Regions from separate parts of the Homo sapiens genome. Here regions 2 and 3 are each linked to region 1. Evidence: promoter capture Hi-C in human tissues and cell types (Jung and others, 2019). All regions are on one chromosome and are shown on one strand. The core of a region is centred on a gene start or on the middle of the fragment in contact, and the rest is flanking DNA. Distances in the headings are between cores, read along the strand shown. Region 1 holds the start of SEMA5A (semaphorin 5A). Region 2 holds the start of LINC02226 (long intergenic non-protein coding RNA 2226). Region 3 has its middle 210 kb from the start of LINC02226.

Region 1 (3,905 bases), core at 1,105-3,604:
AGTTAAAGAACTTTCCCCAGATTAAAACTCAAAATTATATCCTCAATTTAGATCCATTTCACTTTAAACAAAGGATGCACTCTAAATTATAATTTGGTTTATTTACCTGCTTATTAGCAATTATTTTGTAATTAATCACAATTATCACTAAAATATACATCTTTTAACAATGCATTGGTGCAGCCTGTAAACAGCAAAACTGAATTCAACTCCCCCCTACATATATACAAAATTATGTAATTTATCCAGTTAAATGTTATGTTATCAGACCTATTGGGTCATGGTTTAGAAAGCTATCTTCTTCCCACTGCTTAGCTCTATATGCCAAGAGTTTTTTTGCTTTTTTTTTTTCTTTTCAAGTATTAACGGCAATGTTCAGAGGCAAGAAGAGGATTAGCTGAATACATTGGGTTCTAATTTCTGTCTCCCTCACCCTGGCCACGTAGGCTCCACAGGTCCAGGCAAAGGCTGCAGATCCAAGCATAAGGCAGCTTCCTCCCTACATCTTTCCCCCTAGAAGCAGCCAGGCAAGACCTTGGCCTGCCTCTTCCTCCCAGGGAGGCTCCTAGGCCTCTGTGCCACGTAGGCAAGATAATCGGAATGTCTGGAATGGAACTAGTGCTCTAAGTGCCAAGCAAGGGAAGGGAGAACGGTTAAGCTTTTCCTTCAGGTCCCCAGGAGCCTGCAGCTGCCACACAGCAGGCCGGGAGCCCCCGCCACAACCCAGGGAGGAATGCTTGCCAAGAAGGCCTGCCCAGCTACTGACACTTCCTCCCAGAGGTCTTAAAGGAAATCCCAGTAAGGCCTGAGTACCCAAGACAGCCAGATCACCCGTGCCAGAGACTGGGCATTTGGGGATGGGCTGGGCTTTCATAGAAACCTTCGGAATTGCTTTCACTTAATTCTTTTATTTTAAAAAAAAGTTCTAGAAAATAAAGACACATCGATAGCAATTTGTATTTCCATTGTCCTCTTAGGTCTGCATGGCTACTGTGCGAGCTATGACACCCTGCAGCCTGCAATAGCTTCTTTGTTTTATGGATGAGCTCAATGGAACCCTTATGGACGCACCGGACCATGCCCAGGACCAGCGAGGCCCATCCATACCCCACCACTGGCTGGAAGGGCGCTGGTGTGAACGTGGGTCCTTGCGGGGGTCCCTACCTCACTGCGGTCAGGAGGGGGCAATTCACACATTTCCTCATGCAGGGGACCTTCAAGCCTCCCTCTGAGGCGCAGACTGAGTAAAAAGGGCCCAGAGATACTGTCCCGCACCCCCATCCAGTGGGAAAGGGCCACTCAAGGCCAGTCAGGACTCCCAACCCAAGTTTTATGCCTTATACTCCTATAACTTTACCATTTGCTCTTTTCGCGAGGCTGACCCCCTCCCTCTCCCCCCCCACCGCCTCCTCCAGAAACTGAAGAACTGCAACAAAGTGTCCAATTATACACGTCTTCAAAGGTACTTTACTTGCTTCCCAATTATCAACTTTTCACCTGAGTACTTAGTAAGGCCCAAGGATCCTGCAAAAGTGCAACAAGGAATAATTGACACAGAATTGGACGAATGACTTTGACCATACGGGACTTCTCTCTTAACGCTCAGCGTGGCTACCTGGGGACGCCTTCTCTGGCCTCCCTGATTCGTCAGATTTGTTCATTTCCTTGACTTAATCCCGCTGAAATCGACCCGAACTAGCCGGGAGTCTCACCCCCAAAGTGCTCCTCCAAGAACCCGCAACGACTGACTCTCTCGTCTTCTTTAAGGAGTTTCTCCCTCAGAACGGATGAGGATGTCACACAGAAAGAACAAAATCACAAAGTTCGAGTTCCGGAGGACCAGACGGCCCCTGCCCCCCATCCCCCGGGCCAGATTTAGCCGAGGGAACCGCACGTACCTGAAGCCGAGGCCGGCAGAGAGGGAGCGCCACGTCTCAGGTCTCGGCCGGCGCCCCCCTCCGGGGTGCAGCCACGTCTGAACCGGGACAGCGGGCGGGGGAGCCGCAGAGGGACCCAGTGAGACGGGGGAGGGAGCCCCCAAAAGTCAGCGCTCGGCCGCACTCGCACTGGGGAGGCTGGAATGGAACTCCTGGGGTGCAGCGGGGCTCCCAGGAGCGAAGGTGGGGGTCCTGTACCGGGAAGGGGCGGGGCCCGGGGAGGGGCTCGGGGAGGTCAGGCGCGGGTGGGGCGCTCGAGTTTCACCCCGGCGGGGAGGAGGAGGAGGAGGAGGCGGCGCGGCGGCGGGGGCGGGGCAGGGGCGGGGCGGGGCGGGGGTGGGCCCAGGCTGTCCCCCGCTCCCCGCCCAGCGCTCTCCGCCCCGCGCTCTCCGCGCCCGCTCGCCCCGCGCCGATCTACTTGCCGGGAAGGCGGCGCCGGTGGCGGCTGCTCTCCCTGAGCCCGCTCCCGAGCGCTGCTTTCCCGCCGCGGGTGGGCTTCGCAGCCTCAGGCCAGCCGCGGCCCTTGGCCCGCTGCAGCCCCGGCCCTCCACCTTCCCCGTGCAGGGGCGGCCCGGCCAGTGTCGCTCATCCCGGGACGCTCCCTTCTCCCACCCAGGACTGCCCCGCGGAGCTGGCTTGGACACCCAACTTTGCCACCTCGAGGGTCGTCTCTGCTGGGCGCGAACCTGCCCACCCACCGGTTGGCCGCGCGCTCGGGGACCGTGCTCGTGGCCCCCAAGCCGGTGCCCCCATTCTGGAACTCAGCGAGTAGGGGGCGGCTCTGGGGAAGTGGCAGGGGGCGGCTGCAGCTGCTGCCTCCACTTCCCTAGCCAGGTGCTGAAGAGGATCCTCGGAGCCGCTCTGGCCCCCAGGCGCTGGATGACTGGCACCAGCGCTCCTCGCACCTGGTGAGCGACCCCCGCCCGATTCCTGCGTGGCCTTGGCAGGAGCCCCTGACCGCGCCGCGCCGCGCCGCGCCGCTGGCCGGGACCCGGGGACTGCAGCGGTCGGCTGGTGGGTGGTGCCGATCTCGGGTGGGATCCATCAGCAGGCACCTGGGCGGGGGTTGCGCGTACAGGATTAGGACGACCGTCAGTCCGGGGGCGCCCACAGTTGAGCTAGTGCACGGGCTGGAAGTTTGTGTACCCGCCTGTGCCGAGGTCTGAGCATGGAGAGGTAAGGAGCCGGAGTGTCGCGGTGGGCGAGACGGGACCCCTGCCCAACACCCGGAAAGGTGCGCACACTGGTCTGTGCCCGCCCCCGGCGCGCCTCCAGGCTCGCACTGCCGCGAGCCGGGGGCAGGGGACACGGAGGTCGGGACTTGGCGGTTCGGGAGCGGCCACCTCGCAGCCCCACCGGCTTGGGCAGGTTTTCCTGCTTTCCTTACAGGGGAACCGGGAGGCAATGGGACTTGGGCTCAACTCCGCCAAGCGCCTTGGTTAATGAAAGACACTAAGGCGGGGGATGCAGAGGCCTGGGGAACCACCAGCCAGGTGCGCTGCAGCTAGGCGAGCCCCTTTCACCAGGCATCCCTCCGCTGCTCCACGGATTTTGCACACCGCGGCTCAGGGTTTCAGACCCCAGGGTTTCGGGCAGATCGGGCTCCAGAGGGAATGGTTTCTCCCAAGATGTGCGTGGGAACGGTCGTGGAGGAGTGATTCCCCCGGCTCGCTCCCCGCGGCGGCCGGTGCCTGGCTTGGAGCGGTCACATCCCTGTTCCCCTGGCTTTGGCGGGAAGCGCGTTCACCTCCTCGCCCTTTGCTTGCTTTGTACCAGGATGCCGCGGCCGGAGTTGGGATTTAACTTTCCTGCGCCTGCGGCGTCCTCGGGATTCCCGGCAGGGGGCGCTGCGAGCGAGCGCTCGGAGGACGAGGCGCCACAGGCAGTTGCTGGGTCCTGGGCGAGTGGGCGGGAGTCCCAGGCAACAAACAGCAGAACCAGGCAGATCTTGCAATAATTTCATTTTGG
Region 2 (3,718 bases), core at 1,187-3,686, 1.1 Mb after region 1:
CCAGGTGGAAGCTCGGAACGACCACAGGCCCCCGGGGCGCGCCCCTCCCCGTCACGCGCCCCGTTTCCCACGTCCACGCATGCGGTTTCCCCAGGCCTGGAAAGCGTCTAGAGCCAAAGAGCCCAGGGGCTTGCCCGCGCAGAGGCCGACGTGGGGCCCAGGGACGCGCTCCCGGGGTCCTCCCCGCCGAGCCCGCAGCCAGCACCCGGAGCGATCCCCCGAGCCCGAGGGGCGTGGGAACCACGCGCGCAAGCCGGCTGCCCTTCCAGTCCCGGGACGCTTCCCCATCAGGCCAGTGCTAGGCGGGCGGTCGGGACCCGGGGATCGCAGCCTCCGGAGCGCTCACCTGGGTGGCGCAGGCCAAGGACGCCCATGGACAGCGCGACCTCCTCCCATTCCACACACGCGCCCACGACCAAAGTGCGCATGCTCGACACCTGGGACCAATAGGAATCTCGGTCCGAGGGTAGCTGGGGCCAATCACAGCGCGTCTGGCGTGTGGGCGGTGTCTCCTCGTGTTACGCGTGCGCGGAGGGGCTGCGCTACCCGGTCTTGGGTTTTTCATCGGGGAGTGGGAGTGGACTGAAGGCTTGGCCGCTCCGCCTCACTGAGCCGGCTCAGCCAGCGCAGCTGTTCCTGGAACGCCAGTCCCTTAGGATGGGAGGTACTTTCATCTCGAAGAGGGCCGTGGCGTCTGGAGCTTCCCTCCCTTCTGTCCTGCTGAGTCATCCCCGCGTCGCCTGCGAGGCCGCGAGGCGTTTAGGTCTGGGCAGGCCGCCTTTTCCCCATCACGAGATCCTGTTATTTTACTGTTTCATTCTTTTTCTCACTTTCCTATTTGTTAAGCCAAACTTTTTCCTTCCATAGACGTGACCCCTTAGAAGGCTACCCATGCCTCGACATATCTGACATTTGACGTTTTACTCAAATAATTTGCCAAAGTCTATTGCCTTTTTTAACTTCTATTTTCTAAAGCTAGTTTGATACTAATCAACACAGTTTTTTCAACAAGCATGTAAGTGTGCATATTCTAGACATGCGCGGCCTGAGTTTAACCCATCTGCTACTAATTTGTGTTGTCTCGGAATATTATCTAATCCCGTGCTTCAGTTCTCATATATAAACTGAAACTTTATAGATTCACTGGTGGCCTGTAAGCCTGGCCTGTAAGCCTTAAGTTGAAACATGGAGCATATCAGAACTGTGCCTGGCACGTGGTGAAATGTTCAAAAGTTAGTATTGTTATTAGGTGCTGGGCACTTTTCTAGGCTTTGGGATATAGAGATCAATGTCCCTGATGTCCTGGTGTTTATAATTTATTGTGGACACTTTGCTATTTTTTTGGATACAGATCTTTATTTTCATAAACATGGATAATTTTCATTGAGTGCAGTGTGATCTCAATTGATACTTTTGTAGTATTTCATCATTATGCTTATATTCTTTTTAAAATTTAGGTACTGTTGAGGGAAAGTGAGAATGACATGATTTTGATAACATGGTAGAACCTTTTTCATTCATCTGGTGTTGCCACACTGGGGCTCTGGGTGCTTTATGAATCATGTTCACAAGTCATACTTGTGTCTGTCCATGGTTCTTTTCACTACAGCCACCATAGTTCAGGGTGAGATTTTTCACACCGACTGTAAAGATTTATCTGTGGAAAATGGTAATGAGCTTGCCTGGTTGATGTCCTGTTGTTTTCCCAAGTACATACTTGGAAGAGAGTGAACAGAAGACTAAAACGTGGGTCAACAGATGTTTTGCAGTGAGCTAAAAAATAATTGACTTCACTAGAACAACTGCTTGATATTCTACAGCAGTTTTGCAGGTTTCTGAAGTGGAAGAAGCAGATAGTGATGGAATGCTGCTAAAAGAAATATAAGAGAATAATAACACCCTTGGTGCTTGTTAATTTCATTTTGAATTTTTTTTTTTTAAGTTGTCAGTTACATGTTTGGTGACTGCTTTGAAAGTTCTGATTCTGTTGCATGTGGATCCACAAGGTAGCTTAGGAAGCCTGATGGCAGAATACAAATTGTCTTAAAAGAGTTCATAGGTATTCACAATCTTTGTATTGAAGAAAGTATGATGAAACTCCCCAGGTCCAGTTAGGGCAGCACTGGGAATGCAAGGTGAGAAATTGGAAGAATTTACCACACACAAAAAAATGATGTGTCTGTATTAGTCCATTCTTGTATTGCTATAAAGAAATACCTGAGACTGGGTAGTTTATAAAGAAAAGAGGTTTAATTGGCTCACAGTTCTGCAGGCTGTACAAGCATGCTGCTGGCATCTGTTAGACTTCCAGGGGAAGCCTCAGGGAGCTTTTATTCATGGTGGAAGGCCAGCAGGAGGAAGAGAGAAAAGTGGTGGGGAGGTGCCACAATTTACAGCAACCAGATCTTGCAGGAACTTAGTATCAGGAAGTCAGCACCAAGCCTGAGGGATCTGCCTCCACGACCCAAACACCTCCCACCAGCCCCCGCCTCCAACACTGGGGATTAAAATTCAGCATGAGATTTGGTGGGGACATATATTCAAAACGTATCAGTGTCATTTTATGAAATATTCTGGGCTAAAACAGTGGATCTACAAGCAACTTTTAAAAAGAAGATAATTAACATCTCTCAGTTGACAGTTTCTAACTTGAATCCTAAATAGGCCAAGTGTGCAGCAAGCTTGTGGTTTTTGATCAGACACTACCTGTGAGCTCTCTTTTTCTTAGTTCTAATAAGGAAATAGATACTAAGTCTTAGAAATTTTTAAATACTTTGGGCACAATAACATTTTTTTAAACAAAGACCTAGAGCAACATGTTGCTGGACTTTCTGAGCAAAGAAAGTCAAGTGATATAGAAAACTGACTCCTGGGCCAGGGGTGGTGTCTCACGCCTGTAATCCCAGCACTTTGGCAGGCCGAGGTGGGCAGATCACGACATCAGGAGTTCAAGACTAGCCTGGCCAATGTGGTGAAACCCATCTCTACTAAAAATACAAAAATTAGCCGGGCATGGTGGCATGTGCCTGTAGTCCCAGCTACTTGGGAGGCTGAGGCAGCAGAATTGCTTGGACCCGGGAGGCGAAGGTTGCAGTGAGCAGAGATTGTGCCATTATATTCCAGCCTGAGCGATAGAGCAAGACTCCGTCTCAAAAAAAAAAAAAAAAAAAAAAAGAAAGAAAAAAGAAAACTGACTCTTTCAAAATCCATTTTGAATGTAATAGCAAAAAGTTGTTTTCCCCCTTGCAAATTACAGGCATATGTCAGAGATATTGGGGGTTCAGTTCCAGACCACCTCAATAAAGTGAATATCACAATAAAGCATGTCAGATGAAGTCCTAGACAGCATCTCATTCCACATAAGGCTATTTTGCCTACACTGAGAAGCTGTTGTTTAGTGTAGCCACCTTTATCAATGATCTTAGCTGGATCTTCTGGATAACTCGTGGCAGTGTCTACACTAGCACTTGGTGCTTCACATTGCACTTTTATGTATGGAGACAGCTTCTTTCCTTAAACCTCATCAGCCAATGTCTGCCAGCTTTAAACTTTTCTGCAGCTTCCTTATGTCTCTCAGTCATCATAGAAAAGAAGAAAATTAGGGCTTTGTCCTGGATTAGACATTGGCTTAAGGAAATGATATGTCTGGTTTGAATCTCTCCAGACCACTAAAACTTTCCGCAGATGAGCAGAAAGACTGTTTCACTTTCTTATTATC
Region 3 (4,001 bases), core at 441-2,940, 1.3 Mb after region 1:
ACTGTGCCACATGGTGAGGGCTCCAGAGGCAAGTTGCTATTGCTTGACTTAAATGATGAGGGCAATATCATTCATCCGTATACTCTTGCACACAGGACAGCAACAGACTGGTGAGCCATACAGACTTTAGTGAGCAGGTGCGACCAAGGAAAGAAAGCAATGAGGGTAAAGAAATAATTTTTCTGTGTACTGGGTTTTAAGGAATTGATGGACAGAACAGTATTTGTGCCTTTGAAAATGCAAAGTGGCTGAATTGTGGGTTTAACACAGAGCACAGAACATTAGGGAGTTCCAGGCTTAAAGTATCAGTGCCAGTCCTGGAGTGCTACTGGCAGTTGCAAATGGAAACAAAGATCCTTAATGGAAAAGGAATACCTCCAATTAGACCTAACAATTCAGACATCTACCACAAGACGTTTCTAAACTTTCACAAAGGCAGCAAAATCCCTGGATATCAGACTGAGTAGAATAAGAAATTAGAATTTAATTTCTTTAGACTGTTAACTTGAAGGAGCAAGGCACATGAATCTTAACTTAAATAAATTAACTTTCAAGGTGATTTAATCTTTGAACTTTAACGTCTTTGTAAAATTTTAAGAATGGGAGGGGTTTAAGATTTAAATTTGAAGTCAGAATTTTATCATTGAAATGTTTTTATATATTTTATTGTTGAGTTTCTTAATGTTGTAATTGGAACTCTTTACAGAATCACTGGTGGACTATTTTGACAATATGGTATTTGGAATGGGAAGTAGAATAATATTTTTTTTTAACTTTGGATCAGTATAAGTCCGAAGTTATTTTAATTATTGTATTTTTCAGACCCATTTCAGGAGCTTGTGTGGGACAAATCCATGCTGCCCACTACTGTTTCCAGGGAAAACCTAAGTGAAATATTCCAGGAAACAGGGTAGTCACCAGGGGATTGAGGTTAGGAAGTTGAGAGTAGGATTGTCATGATGGACTGTTCTTCCCTTCACAGCAGGTAGAGGCCCACATCCCAGGTCACCACAAGCTTTTACTTTAACCCCAGTGAGTTGAGAGAATGGGAGGCTGGAGAACATTGGTGGGGGTAGGTAATATACTGAAAGGGAGAGTGAATATTTATTATCCTGCCTTGGTGTTTCCTTTCATGTGAAGATGGCTCTTTGGAGCTATCCTATGGTGTCTCTCCTCCCGCTCATACATTCCTCTGTATGGGAAAGTAGGAGAAACTATTCTGATATGTAAGACTGATCTCTCAGGATCTGCTGTCTGCAGGGACCACTTGCTGTCCTCCACTGCCCCCGCTCCACCTCCTTTCCACCGTGGGGATGCCTAAGCTCCAGCCATGGCAGGGTGGAACTTCTACCTGAGCCAGGAGTCTGATGTTAGAATCTCATTTTGCTGTCACTTCTGAGATGCATTCTCCAGCATCACCTCATCCCTATAGAGAGCTGCCTCATGGGAGCACATTTCATGATTTTCTTCATGTAAGAGCAGGACACAGTCCCTGCTGCTCTCTTCACTGGGAAGGGCTGCAAAGCTGGAGATGTGGTCACAGCACAGTTGGCGTGCTCAACAGAGGCCCCTACTCTCTTCTACAAGCCATTACACACAACACGAAGTACAATTAACCTAAAATTAGCCCCTCGTGTATGTGGGCTTTGAGGATTGGTAGAATTACTGATATATTGAGTGAATTATTCTAAGAGACTTTATAGCTTCACAGAGGGGGAATTAAAACACATGTCGTTATGTAGGGAAACATGGAGAGTTCAGACAAACATGGCAACACTTCTTATTACATTTTGTCTCAATAAAAAATGATTTTCATGGCCTCAGATAGCATCTTATATAAGAAGTGGAAGGGCGTTACAGGGCTGATTCAAAATAAGACTTCATGTTTTTATGTTGTTTTATTTATTTCCTTATATGATAGGAATGAGAAAGGACTGAATCATATTTTGAGAGAATTGTTATGGAATTTGGTAATAAAGGGGATTTTTGTCACTGAATTGCTCAAAGCTGTTTTGAGATTATTTTTGCTATAGTATTATTAAAGCCACCTGTGATCCAGCTAAAAACAAAGACCTGTGAAGCTCCACTTGGCTTCAGGTCGTGGTACTTCCTGGAAGGCAGTCACCATCCTGGACAACTGCTTTGGTCTGGGGTGCTATAGTGATATAGATAAGTGATTGACTGAACTTGCCACAGAATGTAAAAACAAGATGATTTCAAGAAATTGTCACCAATGCCCACATTTTCTTCACCACATTAGCGATAGCAGCATAATATTTTTACTCTATCAGCTTTAAAAATCAACCAATGTGTAGCAACTACTCCACCTGTTGGTATTGGAGATTATAATGCCAGAATATCAATCTTGATACACAGCCCGTAATGTCATCAATTTATTTTCTAATCTTCAGCAGTACTGACATTTGAATAATTTCAGATAAATCCAGAGTAAAATTTCCTAGCTTCTCTCCTAAGCTGACCCTCTGGAATCCCACCAAGGATGTGAATCTCTTCTCTATCAGGCACTACGCAGGACTCTGTGGGTCTCTGAAAATGCCTTAAATATTATTCTAATTGAAAGTACCCTGGAACTCAGAGGCACCATCTCCACCGGAGCAGAAAGACTGACCCCACGTGATCTTCCAGTTCCAAGGGGATATCTGGGTTCTGGGTGTGGCACAGGGCCCTGAGAGCTGAGTGCCTGTGACCTTTTCACGTCATGAGATCATGAGAGTGTGTCCATGAAATAAAGACTCTGCCTCTCCCTCGATTCTCCAGACAATGCATTCCCTAACCAATGCCTTAGGATAAAGTGAAACAGATGTCTTCTGTCTTCATGAACCACACGCTTTGTATAAATAAGGATGTATCTGACATCCCAGAAGTTAGATTTAGGCTTCTCCCTATGGAAAACATCTCTAAAGACAAAACACTGCTAAGCAGAATTTCAGGTTTCCAATATGCACTACTCTTGGAGAAAAACCCGTGGATAGATTTTGTTTTCTTTAAAAATAATGTATAATTTTAACTAAGAAAAATTTCAGAGGATTTTTATTAATTTCTGCTGCTTGAAATGGACCATTAGTGTATGTCCAATTTAATGATAATCCCTCACACATTGTTCCCTCCCCTCCAGTGCCAGATTCAGTGCTCACCTTGAAAATCGGGTTGTAGTATTCACTGTTATTTTATTTTATTTGAGACGGAGTTTTGTTCTTGTTGCCCAGGCTGGAGTTCAATGGCGCAGTCTTGGCTCACTACAACCTCTGCCTCCCGGGTTCAAGCAACACTCCTGCCTCAGCCTCCCAAGTAGCTGGGATTACAGGCACCTGCCACCACACCCGGCTAATTGCTGTATTTTTAGTAGAGACGGGGTTTCCCCATGTTGGCCAGGCTGGTCTCAAACTCCTGACCTCAGGTGATCCGCCCACCTCAGCCTCCCAAAGTGCTGGGATTACAGTCATGAGCCACTGCTCCTGGCCATATTGACTGTTATTTATGCTCATACCGAAATATTCCTAAACAAGCTTGTTTGTCAATCTCAAATTGTGCAGGGACTGACTATAATATAACAAAATGGGACTAGAAAGAAAACTGCAAGCACTTTTCTCAGCAAATTTAGGTCCATTTTGATGCATATCTGCACGTGGTGGGTTGGAGTCTAGGGCTAAGGAGGCTCTGAAATTTGAATCCCACACAGATCAATTTACTTCTCAGTGATGAAAATTCTGATGCATGCCCCAGAAGGCACCACAAATCCAGGGAGTTCTTTCCAGAGAGGACTCTTAAGACCAGCTAGGTTAGATTAGGGAAAGCTAGTCCATCATCATTTCCTTAATACAAATTCAAGGAATAAACCCTGAAATTGATGTGCCAGGAATATTGTATTTTTCTTCTGTGGAAATTGTGCTTGGCCCTTCGCATGGAACAATTCTGTGAGATGGAGCAGCTTGAGTCAGCTTCCTCCTTATTTCTCGTTCTGAGTTCTAATGGGACGCTAG

What was found. The method cuts DNA at HindIII sites, captures the fragments that hold promoters and counts their contacts. A contact is called where the count stands out against the background at its distance.
Region 2: a contact is called between a fragment that was not itself captured here and the fragment with the promoter of SEMA5A in region 1, in 1 of the 25 tissues and cell types used here (dorsolateral prefrontal cortex).
Region 3: a fragment that was not itself captured here is called in contact with the fragment with the promoter of SEMA5A in region 1 in 1 of the 25 tissues and cell types used here (dorsolateral prefrontal cortex).

The regions. Positions count from the first base shown.
Region 1 is chr5:9,544,524-9,548,428 of GRCh38, reverse strand. SEMA5A (semaphorin 5A) reads left to right here and starts at 2,354. Exons shown (of 23, transcript NM_003966.3): 1 at 2,354-2,845. SNHG18 (small nucleolar RNA host gene 18) reads right to left here and starts at 2,229. Exons shown (of 3, transcript NR_045196.2): 1 at 1,899-2,229. RefSeq lists a silencer at 2,231-2,420. The HindIII fragment of the contact is 8,719 bases long and covers 1-3,905 here.
Region 2 is chr5:8,454,395-8,458,112 of GRCh38, reverse strand. LINC02226 (long intergenic non-protein coding RNA 2226) reads left to right here and starts at 549. Exons shown (of 6, transcript NR_039984.1): 1 at 549-664. MIR4458HG (MIR4458 host gene) reads right to left here and starts at 426. Exons shown (of 2, transcript NR_039989.1): 1 at 347-426. It also overlaps the pseudogene LOC100419318. RefSeq lists silencers at 97-156, 167-216 and an enhancer at 737-836. The HindIII fragment of the contact is 4,185 bases long and covers 344-3,718 here.
Region 3 is chr5:8,246,004-8,250,004 of GRCh38, reverse strand. No RefSeq gene overlaps it. Among named protein-coding and RNA genes, the nearest start is that of LINC02226, 210 kb to the left of the region's middle. The HindIII fragment of the contact is 5,343 bases long and covers 1-4,001 here.